Linked DNA regions of Homo sapiens: region 2 is linked to region 1. Evidence: promoter capture Hi-C in human tissues and cell types (Jung and others, 2019). All regions are on one chromosome and are shown on one strand. Each heading gives the region's core, a stretch centred on a gene start or on the middle of the fragment in contact. The rest is flanking DNA. Distances are from core to core; before and after follow the strand shown.

Evidence for each region. Contacts are between HindIII fragments. The study calls those that stand out against the background at their distance.
Region 2: a fragment that was not itself captured here is called in contact with the fragment with the promoter of PLA2G12B in region 1 in 2 of the 25 tissues and cell types used here (H1 embryonic stem cells and lymphoblastoid cells).

The regions. Positions count from the first base shown.
Region 1 is chr10:72,953,544-72,956,063 of GRCh38, reverse strand. PLA2G12B (phospholipase A2 group XIIB) reads left to right here and starts at 1,258. Exons shown (of 4, transcript NM_032562.5): 1 at 1,258-1,589. The coding sequence starts at 1,379. The HindIII fragment of the contact is 10,065 bases long and covers 1-2,520 here.
Region 2 is chr10:72,412,918-72,415,437 of GRCh38, reverse strand. The region is part of intron 9 of MICU1 (mitochondrial calcium uptake 1); the gene reads left to right. Among named protein-coding and RNA genes, the nearest start is that of DNAJB12, 59 kb to the right of the region's middle. The HindIII fragment of the contact is 4,207 bases long and covers 1-2,520 here.

The DNA of each region.
Region 1 (2,520 bases), core at 9-2,508:
ATGAAGAAATTAATTCATTTAATTCATTATTTTCCATGGGGCTTTCCAGACAAACATTTGAGAAAGGAGCTAAATGATTCATGTGGTCCATAAAGGTATCATTTTTATAGACTGGTGATTATTTTATTATTACTATTTTTTTGAGACAGAGTTTCGCTCTTGTCGCCCATGCTGGAGTGCAATGGCGTGCTCTCGGCTCACTGCAACCTCCGCCTCCTGGGTTCAAGTGATTCTCCTGCCTTAGCCTTCCTAGTAGCTGGGATTACAGGCGGCTGCTACCTTGCCTGGCTAATTTTTGTATTTTTAGTGGAGACGGGGTTTCGCTATGTTGGTCAGGCTGGCCTCAAACTCCTGACCTCAGGTGATCCAAACGCCTCGGCCTCCCAAAATGCTGGGATTACAGGCATGCACCACCATGCCCGGTCCTAGACTAGTGATTTTATAGATGGCATTTCTTCACACGACTAAAAGCAGTCTAAACTGAAAACGATGCCAAAACACTAGACTTCAGTCAACAGTCTTAAAAGCCTACACTCCCAAATAGACTATTTGATAAACCCTCTGACTTCTAAGAAACTCAAAGGAAAAACACCACCAGGAGAGCCGAGTGCCCCCAGAATTGTCCTTGGACCATCTGTAGATCTTGTCTTATGATCCACTTATGCTGAGTGTAAACAGAGATACTGCTGTAAATAGAAGCCAAAATGTCCCTGCACTCAGATGGCTACATCTGGGAGCTCTGCCAAATTAGAGGATTTATGCGTCAGAGCCAGGTGGGTTCCACAGCAGAAGCTGGGGTCTCAAATCTGAACTTCTGCTTAACACACACTTGGTACCTACTCTGACACTATCGTGACCCTTGGTAAAGTGACTATTAATTCCTACCGCTGGGGCTTTCCTGGGCCCTGTACACATCCTCCTGACTCTCCTTGGAGACTATGTAGGTAGCTGGCTGAGGGGTGTGGCTAGGACCTTCGGTCAAGCTCTTCTATCAAGAGGCTGGCCCTGAAGAGCCACACTTGTAACTGATCAACAGCTTAACAAGCTGGTCGGGGTAGAACTCCGAATCCTTCACCGTTCCTGCGTCTCAGAAGCTGGCTAACATCTCCCTCCCTCCAGGGTGGTAGAATCCACTTTGAAATGTTCTCTCTCCCTGGCCCTCCCACTCCCTAACCTTTGCCCTCTTTCTAATTGCCCTGATCTCATCCCAACCTCCATAGCTATGTTTAAAGTCCACCTCTGGGGAACAGACAGATTGAATGTTCCAGATAATCCCTTTCCCAGTCCTGCCTGACATCTGGGTAGGGGGTTTGTCCCTGGAATTCTGGGACACTGGCTGGGGTTTGAGGAGAGAAGCCAGTACCTACCTGGCTGCAGGATGAAGCTGGCCAGTGGCTTCTTGGTTTTGTGGCTCAGCCTTGGGGGTGGCCTGGCTCAGAGCGACACGAGCCCTGACACGGAGGAGTCCTATTCAGACTGGGGCCTTCGGCACCTCCGGGGAAGCTTTGAATCCGTCAATAGCTACTTCGATTCTTTTCTGGAGCTGCTGGGAGGGAAGAATGGAGTCTGTCAGTACAGGTGCCGATATGGTGAGTGTGCGGTTTCTCTTTCTGTAAAAACTGTTGCTGGTGGACCCATGGACAGCCCCAGAGAGGTCACGATCTGTCTTGCACTTTTTCCTGTTATCCACTTAGAGCTGCCAGATTTAGCAGATAAAAATGTAGGACACCCAGTGAAATGTGAAATCCAAATAAACAACAAATAAGTCATTAGTATAAGTATGTCCAGTGAAATATCTGGGACATACTTATCCTGACAAATTCTTCGTTGTTTATCTCAAACTCACATTTCACTGAGCTTCCTGTATTGTATCTGGGAAACCTTCCCTGGGCCATTTTAATGAGTTTGTTGTGAGGCAGTTCTTAGGAAAAAAGGGTACCTGGGGTGGGAAGAAGGAGGGTGGGTATGAGAGGCCTCTGTGAGGAGTTCCCAGGGATGAAAACTGAAGCCGAACATTCAGAGAAAAATCTGCCATGGGGCAAAACCACCTCCTCAGCTGCTCTGTGCTCAGCTTGGAAACAAATTCTCCCTTCCCCCTGCTGCAGTTCACACCGTCCTCCCAGCTCTCAGTCCCTGACTGGCATCAATTTGCTGGACTTTCTCAAGGGAGCTGTCCCTGCCTGCAGCCTCGGCAACGACAGGCATGCTGTGGAGAGGAAGGGTTCGTGGCTCACCAGGGATCCCGGGGCTGTCCCCTGGACTTGGCGCCAGATGCAGATTTGTGAGCTGGCAGGAGCACTTCCCCTACCTTGCCTGAATATGGCTGGGGGTACACAGATATAAGGTGCACACCTGGCTGCCGGCACAGAGCCCCTGGTCCCAGGGGCCCTGGAAGTTAATGTAAGGGGAGCAAAATGTGGAGCCCCAGGCCTTGAAGCTGGGTGGCATCGTGTAATTGCCAATGCGCATGAAAACGTTTTCCAAAGCATGCACAGTCTCAGGTCTCAGGTAGCATTAGTT
Region 2 (2,520 bases), core at 16-2,515, 540 kb after region 1:
ACCTCTGAAAGGTACCCAAGAAATAGGTAACATGGGCCACATGTAGCACAGGGTTCAGAAAGAATTGCCTTGTACCTGGTATAAAAATATTAATTAAAATTGTTTTAAAACTAAGCAGGAGAGGCTGGGCGCAGTGACTCACGCCTGTAATCCCAGCACTTTGGGAGGCCAAGGTAGTTGGATCACCTGAGGTCAGGAGTTCAAGACCAGCCTGGCCAACATGGCGAAAGCACATCTCTACAAAAATACAAAAAATTAGCTGGCCATGGTGACAGGTGTCTGTAATCCCAGCCACTTGGGAAGCTAAGGCAAGAGAATTGCTTGAACTTGGAAGGCGAAGGTTGCAGTGAGCCAAGATTGCTCCATTGCACTCCAGCCTAAGCAACAGAGTGAGACTCTGTCTCAAAAAAAAAAAAAAAAAAAACTAAGCAGGAGATTGAGCAGAGGATACATGACAAGAATGGTGAGAGGCATGGGATATAAGGAAGGAAGAAGACTGTTTTTTTCAGTGGGCCATAGACAGAACTTGGGCAATTAGATTGGCTTCTGGTAGACGGATTTGCTGTGACTGATTAAAAGGCAGGAAGAGGGAATCATCCATTACAGTGTTTGCACTCATCATGGCCTGTCAGCATTAGATATCTCGCTTTACAGCTGACTCCAAAGGAAGCTACATTTTCCTTGTCTCATCTACTCTGACTGCTTCATATTTTTTAACAACTTTTTTTGAGGTATAATTTATATACCATAAGTTATCCATTTTAACTGTACAATTCGGTGATTTTTATTAATTTTAGTGAATTTTAGTAAATTTGCAGTTATGCAATTATTACTGCCATTCAGTTTTAGAACATTTCCATCACCCCAAAAAGATCCCTCCTGCTAGCTTTCAGTCAATCCTCATTTCTACCCTAGCCCCAGGCAACTATAAAACAGCTTTCAGTCTCTATAGACTTGCATTTACTGGACATTTCATATAAATACAATAATAAGGTAGTCTTTTGTGTCTGGCTTCTTTTACTTAGCACAATATTTTTATGTAGATGCTTATATTAATAGTTTATTATTTTCTATTGCAGAAGAGTAAATAGTATTTTATTTACTACATTACATTTTTATGTAGATGCTTATATTAATAGTTTATTATTTTCTATTGCAGAAGAGTAAATAGTATTTTATTGCTTGGATATACTAAATTTTATTTATCCATTCACATTTGGATTGTTTCCAGTTTTGGGCTATTAGGAATAATGCTGCTGTGAACATTGCGTACAAGTCCTCCTGCAGACCTGTGTTTTCATTTTTGTTGAAGATTCCTAGGAGTGAAATACCTGGGTTGTATGGTAAATTTAATTTTTTGAGGAACTGCTAAACCGTTTTCCAAAGTGGTGGAACCATTTCACATCTCCATGTGAATATACGAGAGTTCCAGTTTCTCCACACCCTCATCAACACCTGTTATTGTCTGTCTTCTTTATTACAGTCATTCCAATAGGTGTGTAGTGGTATATCATTGTGATTTTAATTTGTATTTTCCTAATGATGCTAAGCATTGTTTCATGTACTTATTAGCCATTCACTTGTCTTGTTTGGTAAACTGTCTATTCAAATCTTTTTTTAAATCAGGTTGTTGGTCTTCCCATATATTGAGTTATAATAGTTGTTTATATAATTCTGGATACAAGTCCTTTTTTTTTTATTTTTGAGACAGGGTCTCCCTCTGTCGCCCAGGCTGGAGTGCAGTGGCACAATCTCAGCTCACTTGAACCTCTGCCTCCCAGGTTCAAGCAGTTATCCTGCCTCAGCCTCCTGAGTCACTGGGATTACAGGTGCCCACCACCACAGCCTGGCTAATTTTTGTACTTTTAGTAAAGATGGGTTTTCACCATATTGGTCAGGCTGGTCTCGAACATCCAACCTCAGGTGATCCACCCGCCTTGGTGTCCCAAAGTGCTGGCATTACAGGTGTGAGCCACTGCGCCCGACCTGGATTCAAGTCTGTTACCAAATATATGATTTTCAAGCATTTTCTCCTAGCTTGTGATTTTTCTATTTTCTCATTATTTTGAAGCACAAATTTTTTAAATTTTGATGAAGTCTAACCAATCAGTTTTTTTTCCTTTATGGATTGTGCTTTGGGTGTCATCTAAGAACTCTTGCCTTAGTCAAGGTCATGAAGATTTGCTCCTATGTGGTTTTGTTTTGTTTTGTTTTGTTTTTGTTTTTGTTTTTTGTCTTTTTTTGAGACAGAGTTTCACTGCTGCCCAGGCTGGAGTGCAGTGGCACGATCTCGGCTCACTACAACCTCCACCTCCTGGGTTCATGCAATTCTCATTCCTCAGCCTCCCGAGTAGCTGGGATTACAAGCACATGCCACCATGCCTGGCTAATTTCTGTATTTTTAGTAGAGACAGGGTTTCACCATGTTGGCCAGGCTGGTCTCAAACTTCCAGGCTCAAGTGATCTGCCCGCCTTTGCCTCCCAAAGTGCTGGGATTACAGGCATGAGCCACTGTGCACT